Regions from separate parts of the Homo sapiens genome. Here region 1 is linked to region 2. The links are contacts of gene promoters, found by promoter capture Hi-C in human tissues and cell types (Jung and others, 2019). All regions are on one chromosome and are shown on one strand. The core of a region is centred on a gene start or on the middle of the fragment in contact, and the rest is flanking DNA. Distances in the headings are between cores, read along the strand shown.

The links. The method cuts DNA at HindIII sites, captures the fragments that hold promoters and counts their contacts. A contact is called where the count stands out against the background at its distance.
Region 1: a fragment that was not itself captured here is called in contact with the fragment with the promoter of USP50 in region 2 in 1 of the 25 tissues and cell types used here (H1 embryonic stem cells).

Annotation. Positions count from the first base shown.
Region 1 is chr15:50,775,868-50,782,784 of GRCh38, reverse strand. No RefSeq gene overlaps it. Among named protein-coding and RNA genes, the nearest start is that of SPPL2A, 14 kb to the right of the region's middle. The HindIII fragment of the contact is 8,950 bases long and covers 1-6,917 here.
Region 2 is chr15:50,542,829-50,549,692 of GRCh38, reverse strand. USP50 (ubiquitin specific peptidase 50) reads left to right here and starts at 3,027. Exons shown (of 7, transcript NM_203494.5): 1 at 3,027-3,220; 2 at 4,912-5,106; 3 at 5,900-6,095. The coding sequence starts at 3,168. The HindIII fragment of the contact is 4,694 bases long and covers 913-5,606 here.

The sequences.
Region 1 (6,917 bases), core at 2,372-4,871, 230 kb before region 2:
CTCCTGGGTTCAAGCGATTCTCCTGCCTTAGCCTCCCGAGTAGCTGGGATTACAGGTGCCTGCCATCGCGCCCAGTGAATTTTTGTATTTTTTTAATAGAAACAGGGTTTCACCATGTTGGCCAGGCTGATCTCCAACTCCTGACCTCAGGTGATCCACCCGCCTTGGCCTCCCAAAGTTCTGGGATTACAGGCATGAGCCACCGCACCCAACCAGCTTTATTCCTTTGACTTAAGTCAACAAGGCAGTTGGCTCAGTTTCCTGGAAGAAGTAACCACTAAACCTATATATATATATATATATATATATATAATTTGAGACAGGGTCTTGCTGTGTCGCCCAGGCTGGAGTGCATTGGCACGATCACAACTCACTGTACTTTTCATCGCCTGAGCTCAAGCCATCCTCCCGCTTCAGCCTGCCTAGTAGCTGGGAATACATGCATGAGCCACCACAGCAGGCTACTTTCTTTCTTTCTCTTTTTTTTTTTAGAGACAAGGTCTCACTGTGTTATCCAGGTTGGTCTTGACCTCCTGAGTTCAGGTGATCCTTCTGCTTCAGCCTCCTAAACTGCTGAGATTACAGGCATGAGCTACCCTTCTTCCTAGCCAATCATTTATATTTTAACATGAACAAACTTTTCAGAGTCTTCTCAGAGGGCAAGTTGGGAGCGACTCTGCTGCCAGTCTGGAGATCTCTGAGCTATTTTTGGCTGAGGGAGGAGGAAAAAGATAAGACCGACCCCAACTCAGAGAAGTATCCGCATGCAACCACAGGTGTCAGCCAGGCCTCCTTAGCTCAAAGGATCTGTGCTTACCTATGCCCATGAAACACATGTTCCCCCAAAGATCCCATCTCATATCAGAATATAGAGAGTGAGCTCCCAGCTGCTCATGGATCATTCTGTTCTACATAAGCCAGTTTAGAAGCTCACAGGATAACTGCCTTTTTAATGAAGTTGAGTGAGTGCTTTTCCTTCATTTCACCAACTAGAGAAAAGTCCCTGGCCAGAGTTTTAACAGTCCCATACCACACCCAGAGTGGGAGCACTGAGGAAAGGATGGGGTGAATAACCCTGAATTCATGCTAAAAAGCATCCTTTCTCACAAAAAAGATTATGGGATTTTTTTTTTTGCACTTCTTAACTCTGAGCAATTTATATCTCAGAGCAATTTACATCTCTGATTTAATCACATCTTAACCTGAATGCATGCATTAAAAACAGCCACAAAATAAATAAATGAATAAATTAAAGTCTCTAGGCTATAATTTGGGCCATCTTTGACCAGTAATTTGCATCAATGCCATCCTTGCTTTTCACAACAGGTTATACAAGCAAGGTAATAGCCAGTGATCACTCTCTTTTTATGAATATATAAATGAATACTAGAGGATGTCTCTGGAGAAGATTACAGGTTTTATATAAAGCTACTTTTAGATATAAGGTCCTGAAATAGAAACTTACAATCTGAGCAGAAATCAAATGGCTCCAGGATTCCTGTACCAAGGTGTTCTTGCCAAAAGATCTGCTAGGGCAAATGCAACATCTGTAAAAAGGCTAAAAACCACTATAGTCCACCCCAGCAAGGTTTGCTCTCTAGAGTAGCCACGTCCAATAGGACATTCTGCAGTGATGGACATGTTCAGTATCTGTGCTGCCTGACATGGTAGCTATTAGCCAAGTGTGGCTATTGAATACTTGAAATGTGACTAGTACAACAGAGGAACTGAATTCTCATTTTGTTTTGATAAGTTTAAATTCAAATACCCACATGTGAGTACTGGCTACCTTATTGAACAACACAAGTCTAGAGGCTAATCCAGCCTAAAGGAAGCAATCCAGGCCAGGCGCAGTGGCTCACGCCTGTAATCCCAGCACTTTGGGAGGCCAAGGAAGGCGGATCACCTGAGGTCAGGAGTTCAAGACCAGCCTGACCAATATGGTAAAACCCTGTCTCTCCAAAAAAATACAAAATTAGCTGGGTGTGGTGGCGGACACCTGTAATCCCAGCTATTTGGCAGGCTGAGGCAGAAGAATCGCTTGAATCCGGGAGGTGGAGGTTGCAGTGAGCCGAGATTGCACCATTGCACTCCGGTCTGAGAAACAAGAATGAAACACCGTCTCCAAAAAAAAAAAAAAAAAAAAAAAAAAAAAGGGAAAGAAAAGAAAGCAATCCAAAAGTCACCTTTGAATTCAGCAAGGAATCTGACAACATTTGATAACTTAATATTTTAGCTGTATAAAAAACTATACTTTCCCCTATTAAATTATCTCAATTCGGCCAGGTGCAGTGGCTCACGTTTGTAATCCCAGCACTTTGGGAGGCTAAGGCAGGCGGATCACAAGGTCAGGAGTTCGAGACCAGCCTGGCCAACATAGTGAAACCCTGTCTCTACTAAAAATACAAAAATTAGCTGGGTGTGGTGGCCCGTGCCTGTAGTTCCAGCTACTCAGGAGGCTGAGGTGGGATAATTGCTTGAACCAGGAAGTGGAGGTTGCGGTGAGCCGAGACTATGCCATTGCATTCCAGCCTGGGTGACAAAGTGAGACTCCGTCTCAAAAAAAAAAAATCTCAAGTCTTCACAATGGCCTTCTAGGCCTTTCATAATCTGGTCTTCCACCCCTCACTACCTTCACTCATTACCTCTAGGATTTCAGCTCCTGCGCTATCTACCCTTACTCATGTAGCCCCAGTTCTAGTGGCCCCCTTGCATCATTCTTGCCTCAGGGTCTCTGCATTTGCTGTTTTCTCTGCCTAAACTACTCTTCTCTTACCTATACTCACGGCTTGTTCCTCCCCTTCCTTTCAATTAATGTTCAAATATTATGTTCTCAGTGAGGCCTTTCCTGACCACCCTATTTAGAATTGTAATGCTTACCACCACCCAGACTCCTTACTTCTTTTTAAAAAAGAAGTTACTCAACTTAACTTTTCTCTTTAGTGTTTTTCCTCTCCTAATATACTTTTTCTTTCTTTTCTTGTTTTTGAGACAGACTGGAGTGCAGTGGCACAACCATGGCCCAAGGCAGCCTCAACCTCCCGGGCTCAAGCGATCTTCCCATTTCATCCTCCTGAGTAGCTGGGACTACAGGCATGTGTCACCATGCCCAGCTAGTTTTTTTTATTTTCTGTAGAGATGGAGTCTTCCTATGTTGCCCAGGCTGGTCACAAACTCCTGGGCTCAAGCAATCCTCCTACCTCGACTTCCCAAAGTGTTGGGATTACAGGTGTGAGCTACCATGCCCAGCCTTTTCTAATATACTTCTAACATAATTCAGTTACTTATTTTGTCTTTCTCCCCATCTAGAATGTGAGCTCTATGAAGGCAAGGATTTTTGTTAGTTTTATTTACTTCTGTACTCGGTGGTGTGCTCATAAATGTTTAACATCTAGCTCAGGGATGGGGGCAACACCCTGATTTGCCGATTTCTGTGGCGTAAATACTTCCACTACGGCCAGTTTCAAGCTACCAACAAAAAGTTACTGAACATAGAGCTGAACAAAATCTGAGAAGAGACAAAACTAATATGTGTGATTGAAGTCAGAAAACAGTTATTCTTGGGAGCAAAAGCCAGCTAGAAGAGAACAGTAGAGGGACTTCTGAGTAGATAGAAATGCTCAGTTTCTTGAAAGGATGCTGGTCACACAGATGTGTTGAGTTTGTGAAAGCTCATCAAAGTCTACACTTGCAATATGTACACTTTCCTGTCTTTATATTATACTTCAAGAAAAAAGGTAAATTTAAAGAATATATAGGGCCAGACACAGTGGCTCACACCTGTAATCCTAGCACTTTCGGAGGCCGAGGTGGGCGTATGACTTGCGGTCAGGAGTTCAAGACCAGCCTGGCCAACATGGTAAAACCTTTTCTCTACTAAAAATACCAAATTAAACGTGGTGGCCCATACCTGTAATCCCAGCTACTCAGGAGGCTGAGGCAGGAAAATCGCTTGAACCTGGGAGGCAGAGATTGCTGTGAGCCGAGATTGCACCACTGCACTCTAGCCTGGGCAACAGAGCAAGACTCTGTCTCAAAAAAAAAAAAAAAAAAAAAAAAAGAATATATACTGAGTGCTCTTTTGACCAGGCATGGTGGCTCACTCTTGTAATCCTAGCACTTTGGGAGACTGAGGTGGGAGGATTACTGGAGCCTGGGAGATGGACATTGCAATGAGCTGGGATTGCGCTACTGCATTCCAGTTTGGGCAACAGAGTCAGACCATGCCTCAAGAAAATTAATTATATTTTTTTTAAAAGGATATATAGTGCCCATTTATGTTCATAAGTTGTAAAATACTTCTCTCACTCCTCCCAGTTTCCAGAGCTCCACCCTTTTGTTACTGAATTTTAAACTCATGGCCTTCGGTCTTTATCTCGTGACAGCGGGTCACCTCTCTAAATACACTTTCATTTAAACTGATGTTCCCATCTCAGCTGATCCAGGTGACTGCAAATGACCGGCTGTACTTGCTGATGGGGTTGCACACTAATGCCTAGACTAGGCCAGCAATATCACATGGCCCTATCATCGTGATCTCTGGCATGTACACCTGACACAGAATGCCAAGTATAAGTTAATGAAAAACAAGAAAAACCAGGGGAGGTGTCTAATAATGTCAAGACTTCTTAAAGAGAAAATATAATTATATAGTTTGTATTTTCAGCAAAAAACTCATGGGGGTCAGGCTACACATTGTTATGAATGTAACATTCCTGCCAAATTGGATACTTGGTATTAATATTTAAATACTGACTTAAAGTCCAGGCTCCGTGGCTCACGCCTGTAATCCCAGCACTCTGGGAGGCCAAGGTTGGTGAATCACCTGAGGTCAGGAGTTCGAGACCAGCCTGGCTAACATGGCGAAACCCCGTCTCTACTAAAATACAAAAATTATCCAGGCGTGGTGGCAGGTGCTTGTAATCCCAACTACTTGGGAGGCTGAGGCAGGAGAATCACTTGAACCCAGGAGGTGGAGGTTGCAATGAGCCAAGATCACACAACTGCACTCCAGCCTGGGCGACAACAGTGAGACTCCACATTAAAAAAACAAACAAACAAAACAAAATAACACACACACACACACACACACACACACAACTGACAAATACTGATTTAAGATGCTAATTTATATTTATTTATTTTTTCATTTTTGAGATGGAGTCTTGCTCTGTTGCCCAGGCTGGAGTGCAGTGGCAAGATCTCATCTCACTGCAACCTCCACCTCCCGGGTTCAAGCAATTCCCCTGCCTTAGCCTCCTGAGTAGCTGGGACTACAGGTGCGCGCCACTGCACCCAGCTGATTTCTGTATTTTTAGTAGAGACGGGTTTCACCATGTTGGCCAGGCTGGTCTCGAACTCCCAACCTCAGGTGATCCGCCTCCCTCAGCCTCCCAAAGTACTGGGATTACAGGCATGAGCCACCGTGCCTGGCTGGTGTCATGGGGAGGCAGAATTGGTTTATTCCTCATTCCTCCTGCACACAATATTTCTTATTCCTTCTGCACATAATAGCAGTGGCTATTAGTGGAATTGCACTATTAGTCAAAAATCCTGAATCTGTTTTCTGCTGAGCAGGCATATTTCATAGAATCATAGTAAAATAGAGCCAGAAAAGTCATGTGGAAAGTATACTGCTGTGTAACAAATGGCATCTTAGAAGTCTAAAATTATCCTTGTGCATCAAAAAGATCTGACTGCATTTACTTGCTTTGGGTGATAGTTTATTAATCTGGAGGCTCCTATAAATAAACAACTTCAGGCTGGGCACAGTGGCTCACACCTGTAATCCCAACACTTGGAGAGGCCAAGGTGAGCAGATTGCTTGAAACCTGGAGTTTGAGACCAGCCTCGAACATGGTGAAACCCCGTCTCTACAAAGAAATACAAAAATTAGCTGGGCGTGGTGGTGTGCACCTATAGTCTCAGCTACTGGGGAGGGTGAGGCAGGAAGATTGCTTGAGCCAAGGAGGCAGAGGTTGCAGTGAGCTAAGATGGTGTCACTGCACTCCAGCCTGGTGACAGAGCGAGACTCTGTTTCAAATAATAATAATAGTAATAAACAACTTTGGTTTAAAAAGCCCAGAGTAGTCTCAATATGTCAATAGTTAATACTGTAGTGCCCAACCAAGAAAATCATATAAATTAATTTACCTGGAGTCAGAGGAGGATTTGATTAATATGTGAATCAATCCACTATGCCAGAAAACTTTGGATATGGATTGGGTTTTGCTTTTTCCAGCAATATCTAAAGTCAACTACTGTTCCTTGCAGCAACACTGATTTATACAGACAATAGCAGCCTTTGGTATACCTCAACACCAAGAACAATGTAACTCTAGCTTACAATTTGTTATCTCTTTTTTTTTTTTTTTTTAAGAGGGATTCTCACTCTGTCACTCAGGCTGTAGTGCAGTGGCATGATCTCAGCTCACTGTAACCTCCACCTCCTGGGTTCAAACGATTCTCCTGCCTCAGCCTCCTGAGTAGCTGGGCCCACAGGCCCACACCACCGCGCCCGGCCAATTTTTGTATTTTTAGGAGAGATGGGGTTTTGCCATGTTGGCCAAGCTGGTCGCGAACTCCTGACCTCAAGTGATCTGCCCACCTCGGCCTCCCAAAGTGCTGGGATTACAGGCGTGAGCCATTAAGCCTGGCCTATTAGTTATTTCTTTAAAATTTGTATTTAAAAACCATTCATACAAAAGAATATATATGTATATAAATAAAATCTCTAAAGTTATCTTATGTACCAGGCTATTTTTATTCATTTTTAGTGTAGAAATATGTCCTGGAGGGAAAAATAATTCAAGCTTTTATCAGTGAAGAAAACCTTGGACTTTTTTTTGAGATGGAATCTCGCTCTGCCACCCAGACTGGAGTGCAGTGGCGCGATCTCAGCTCACTGCGGTCTCCAC
Region 2 (6,864 bases), core at 1,778-4,277:
TGAAGGAGCCTAAAAGGGACATGAAAACTAAATGCAATGTGAGATCCCAGCTAAACTATATCTGGTTTTCCTTTTTGAGTTTTGTTTTGTTTTGTTTTGAGACAGTCTTGTTCTATTGCCCAGGCTAGAGGGCAGTGGCATGATCTTGACTCACTGCAATTTCCGCCTCCCAGGTTCAAGGGATTCTCGTGCCTCAGATTCCAGAGTAGCTAGGATTACAGGCCCGTGCCACCATGCCCAGCTATTCTTTTTGTATTTTTAGTAGAGACAGGGTTTCGCCATGTTGGCCAGGCTGGTCTCTAACTCCTGGCCTCAAGTGATCTACCCGCCTCAGCCTCCCAAAACGCTGGGATTGCAAGTGTAAGCCACCACTCCTGGCTTTTGGGGTTCTTTTTGAGACAGGGTCTCTGTCACCCAGGCTGGAGTGCAATGGCACAATCACAGCTCACTGCAAGCATGACGTCCTGGGCTCAAGTGATCCTTCCACCTTGGCTTCCTGAGTAGCTGGAACTACAGTCATACACCACCATGCCCGGCTAATTATTATTATTATTTTTTTTGGTAGACGGAGGGTGGAGAGTGGGGTGGGGGGGAATGGGGGTGGGGGTGGGGGATATTCTCACTGTGTTGCCCAAACTGGTCTTGAATTCCTGGACTCAAGCGATTCTCCTACCTCGGCCTCCCCAAGTGCTGGGATTACAGGCATGAGCCACCACACCCAGCCCCATGTCTGGTTTTAAACTAAGCTTAGTAGTTTGTTATAGAGCACAGAATATTAACACATAGATAATCTAACTCATGAACATAGATACAAAACCCTTGAACAAAAAGATTAACAACTAGAACCCAACAATTCACGAAAATAATAACTACAGCTCAAACAAAATATACCTGAGGAATAGAAGATTAATATGTGACCATCATTGATAATGAACAACAATAACAGAATAAGAAAGAAAATCTCATGATTACCTCAATAAATACAGAGAAATCTGGTCATACTCACTATCCATTCATGATTACAACTCTTCAATACTATGTCTGCAAACATCATACTTAATGGTGAATTATCCAAAGCTTTCTCTCTGAGTTAAGCAATTAGCTATCTCCACTTCTATTCACTATTTTACTATGTTCACAATTTTTCACTATTTTCACTATTTTACTGGCAGTCCTCACTAGTAAAGAAGAAGTAAGACTCAGAAAAAAATTAAACTGATTTTGTTGCAGACAACTTGAATGTGTTTATAAAAAATCCAAAGAACCTATGTAAAAATTAGACTTAAGTAAGTCAAGTTAGGCCATACTCAGGGGCTCACATCTGTAATCCTAGCACTTTGGGAGGGTGAGGTGGGAGGATTGCTTGAGCCCATGAGTTCGAGACCAGCCTGGGCAACATAGCGAGACCCTGTCTCTATTTAAATAAAAATTAAAAAATTAAAGAGTAAGTCAGGTTAGAAAGGTTCCTGGATAGACAACCAACATATGACAAATAATTGTATTTTTACCTACCAGCATCAAACACAAAATGAAACTTTTAAAAGACCCTATTGATTAGGAGAAAATGAAGGACTTGGGAGAGCCTCACTGACAAATAGAGCAAGTTTACAGGATTTAAGTCCTGCAGAACCACCACTGAGGTGACTTGGAGAGATACCTCTGTAAATACATCGCAAATATCAAATACCTGCAAGAGAGGACAGCTCTACTTGCCAGGATTCCTTATCCAGGTGTCAAAGAATGAATATTCTAAATATCTTCGTGTAGCCTGAGCATATATGTGGGTTTTTTTTAACCATTTAGACATAAGTTGGGGTGCATACTATGGATTCCTCAACACCTTGCTTTTTTTGACTTACCAGTCATATATCTGGAGAGAAATCCATTTTAGCAAAAAATATGTGTAATATATTCTTTCTTTTTAATTTTTTTTTTCTTTTTTTGAGACCGAGTCTTCGCTTTGTTGCCCAGGCTGGAGTGCAGTGGCGCGATCTCGGCTCACGGCAAGCTCCGCCTCCCGGGTTCACGTCATTCTTCTGCCTCAGTTTCCCGAGTAGCTGGGACTACAGGCGCCCGCCACCACGCCCAGTTAATTGTATTTTTAGTAGAGATGGGGTTTCACCGTGTTAGCCAGGATGGTCTCTGTCTCCTGACCTCGTGATCCTCCCGCCTCAGCCTCCCAAAGTGCTGGGATTACAGGCGTGAGCCGATGCGCCCGGCCTCTTTTTAATTTTTTAAACTTGCAGAAGAGTTGCAAGAATAGTGCTCTTTAGTGGGCCTTCACTCGGAATCACCAACTGCTGGCGTGTGGGTGCACTGGCTTTATAGTATGTGCTTTATCAGTCCCCTTCCTTCCTGTCCTCCTGTCCCTGTGTGCTTCCTGAACCGTTTGAAAATAGGTTGCATATATCATGCCCCTGTGCCCCGAAAAACTTCAGTGTGTATTTTCTAAGAACAAGGGCATCCCCTTGCATAAACACAGTACAATCTTATCAAATTCAGAAGATTCAACATTAATAGAAAAAACTATCTGCATATTATCCATATTCAAATTTCATCAATCGTTCCCATAATGTTCTTTTATGGCAATTTTTTTTTTCTGATCCGGTATTCAGTCCGGATAGATCTAGCTCCTGAATAGAAGTGGAAATCCTCGCTCCCCGGGGTGAGGAAATTCCCTCAGGGCTCCTAGGTGTGGTGTAGTCGCTGGGAAGGGGGAATGAGTGCCCAGAGCAGGCAGGGTTGCCGTAGTGTCCACTAACTCAGTGGCGGTAAATTTTTGTGCACATGTTAAGTGTGTGTGTGTGTATGTGTAATATATATATACACAAGAGAAACTGAGTGATGGAAGAAGGAAGAGAGGTTATATGTGTAGTTCATTCTCTGGAGCCTAATCTTTCTAAAACATTTCAGACAACCCAGTAACAGTGTCTCATGGCAACATGATAGAATCTTGAAGGTGAATGGAAAGGATTATGATGTACGGAAAATCCAAGTTGGAGTGGTGCCTGATACAGGTGAAAATCAGTTCGCAGCTACTGGAAGAGAGAGGAGCATATCAATTGTTTAAAACAAAAAGCCAGCGTTAACAGGCTCAGAGAAATGAAGTTGAAAGGAATAGATGTAGCTCCTGAATAGAAGCAAAAGTCCAACGTGGTTCCATTAAAATGACTTCTCAGCCGTCTCTCCCTGCAGATGACTTCGATATCTACCACGTCCTGTGAGCCTTGATCTACTACAGCTTTCTAGATTAGCCCAGTGGTGGGAAAGTCAAGCTCAGAGGAGTCAGGGGACACACACTGCATTCAGGAGGGTTCTCCCAGGTGTGACCCATGGAAGGTCCCCGGAAAGGAAGGAAGATTGTACCTAATATCTTGGCAATAAATACATGTCCTTCCTAAAGGGTGACAGTCTAGGACCTCCTGTGGTATCAGTGAGTAAAAGTGAAAATGACCATGCTTATAACAGTGAACACTTTTCAAACTGGCATAACTGTACTTAAAAGTATGTATGAGGTAAGGTCACTGTCTCATGGAGCCCCAACTTTAGATACAATATATGGAAAGAAAAATCCGAGAGGACATAGATACCAGGCTGCCTGGCACAATACAAAAAATTGTAAGAGGAAGCTCTGTGCAGGGAGAGGAGGTCCCGTTTGGAACCCTCAGTGTTCTCTCTGTGCAGGCAGGTCTGGGCAATTCACATGAACACTCTAATCCTGTAGCTTACTGGGAAGGACATCCTAGATCAATCACTTAAAAAAATTTTTCAGTTGTCATTTAGACGAACCTGTGTCAAGTAGCTTGCATGATACCTGCATAATCCTCACAACCATCCTATCAGGCAGATGATATTATTCCTATTTTATAGATGAGAAACGGACATAGAATCCCAGATCCTATAATTAATAAACGGCATAGTTGGGATTTAAACTAAGATCTATATTTTTACAAAGTCTGTGCTCTTTCTCCTCTCCGTGTATATGTGTGTGTGTGTGTTTATATGTATATAGCTATATACATACACATATACACATATGTGTGCTCTTAAGATATATATATTCATGCTCTTAATGTGCATATATTATGCCTTCAATATATATGCCATACATACATATATATACAAATATATACATATATATCACATATATAGAGACAATCTTAATATATATAGACAATCTTAATATATGTAAATCCAAATATCTTAATGGATAGGTATGTTGGGAGAGAGGGAGGGAGGTAAACAGATAGGTGGATATTCCTTTTTTTACATACCACCACACACCCCATGAGTAAATGACTACATCATTTAAACCTGACATCTCATCTGTAAAATGGGATGTAAAAATAATCGTTCCTGCCTTACACAATTGTTGAAAGATTTAATGGGAAAATGCATGTTAAGTACTTAAATAGTGCCAGGCTCACTACCTGATAGCTATTGTTTTATTAACTATTAATAATAATAATAATAATTTAATTACTTGCCCAGCAAGTTGTCAGTTGTCTTGCTTTAGTTTTAGAAGGAAATTTTTATCTGTCTTATTTGGCTTCAGGTACTTGTTCACAGTTCTGGTCTAAGTTATGTAATTTTGTTTTTAATTTAATTTATTTATGTAATAGAGACAAGATCTCACTATGTTACCCTGGCTGGTCTCAAACTCCTGGCCTCAAGCAATCCTCCCACCTCGGCCTCCCAAAGGGCTGGGATTACAGGTGTGAGCCACTATGCTCTGCCATAATACAATTTTAGACTCCAAGTTCCAATACTTCCTGTCCTTGGTAGGGAATGTGTTTGGAGGAAGTCTTATTAAGAACTCTTCTTTATTTCATAATATTAAGAGAAGCTTATTGTCATTTGTACATATTTTGTTCTCTCAAAACCCTTTCTTCCCATGTGGCACCAACACAGTGCAGAGTGCACAGATTACTATGATACCCTTCCAGTTAAGGAGGCTGATGGGAACCAGCCCCATTTTCAGGGTGTCACTGGCTTGTGGAACTTGGGCAACACATGCTGCGTGAATGCCATCTCACAGTGTCTCTGCAGCATCTTGCCGCTGGTGGAATACTTTCTCACCGGGAAGTATATCACCGCTCTGCAAAAGTAAGACCATTTGCATTCCCTGCAGCCCAGCCCCCACCCCCACTTCCCCACAGATGAGGTTAGAGAAGGAACTCTGGAATCCCTATTAAGAGATAAACAAACAAGTCAGTAGAGGTTGTAGCTTCCCAGATAACACGCTAGAGTAAGTAAAAGTGGGAAGGGCAACCAAGAAATGAATGCAGCTCCTTTTTTTTTTATTTTTTATTTTTTTTTATTGTTGTTGTTGAGCCAGGGTCTCGTTCTGTTGCCCAGGCTGGAGTGCAGTGGTGCGATCTTGGCTCCCTGCAACCTCTGTTCCTCGGGTTCAAGTGACCCTCCTGCCTCAGCCTCCTGAGTAGCTGGGATTACAGGCACGCGCCACCATGCCTGGCTAATTTTTTTTGTATTTTTGTAATTTTTTGTATTTTTAGTAGAGACGGGGTTTCACCATGTTGGCCAGGCTGGTCTTGAGCTCCTGGCCTCAAGTGATCCACCCCTCCCAACCTACCACCTCGGCCCCCCAAAGTGCTGGCATTACAGGTGTGAGCCACTGAGCCTGGCATCCTTTTTTTTCTTTTAGACAGTCTTGTTCTGTCACCCAAGCTGGGGTGAAGTAGTGGTATGATCACAGCTCACTGCAGCCTCGACCTTCTGGGGGCTCAAGCTATCCTCCTGCATTGGCCTCCCAAAGTGCTGGGGTTACAGGCATGAGACACCACGTTCTTCCATTTTGAGACTAATTTCCTAGGCTTGGGTGATTAGGTGCCTTCTTTTCATTAAATCAGCCAGAAACATATCCCTTTCTTCTTCCAAGCGATTGCAGTGAAGTTGCCACTGCTTTTGCCTATCTGATGACAGACATGTGGCTGGGAGACTCAGACTGTGTCTCACCAGAAATATTCTGGTCAGCTCTTGGCAACCTCTACCCAGCATTTACGAAAAAGATGCAACAAGATGCTCAGGAATTCTTGATTTGTGTCCTAAATGAACTTCATGAAGCTCTAAAAAAGGTAAGTAGAGTTAATGACCTTGAAATAGGATAGTCCTGAACCTTTATCAGCAGCTTCCATTTTTCATTCTTTTACTTGTTCAATTAATATTGTCTACTTTGTGCCAAGCACTGTGCTAGGTGTCCCATGGAGAACATCCAAGTTAGTATTTGAATGTGTAGCTGTATTTACCAAACTTACTTGTCATCAGAATCATCTGGGAAGATTTTACAACACAGATTTTAAGGCAAATACTCCAAGGGTAATTAATTAGAATGTCTTTTGGGAAAGCTTACTTGGCATTTCCAGTGGTCAGCTAGGCTTTGGAAACACTAATCTACTTTTCTTTGTAAATAGAGGCTGAATGGACTAGTTTTTAAAAGTGCAAAATATATTCCTCATGAGAAATAACATATAGAACTTTATAGCTTAAATTTTCTTGGGACCTACAAATCCATGAAAATATTAAGCTTGATATTAGATTAAGCAACAGATCTACGCACTACAAAGTTTCATCCTCATACCAAACATACCTAACCTGAGTTCATCACCGAATTAGGACATACATTTCATTAAACATGAAATCATCAGTTACTCTAGAGGTTTTGCCTTTATTTACAAAACTCACTGCCCTTAGCCTTGGTCTGAGACCCACATTCTCTGAAAATGTGTCCTTGACTTTATGCAACATCCTTCTGCTAACATTACCTCACTGCACCTCTAATACCCAGGGAATGGTTAGCATAAAGGTTGCAAACTATAGCTATTAATTGTTCTCATTGGCAGATCT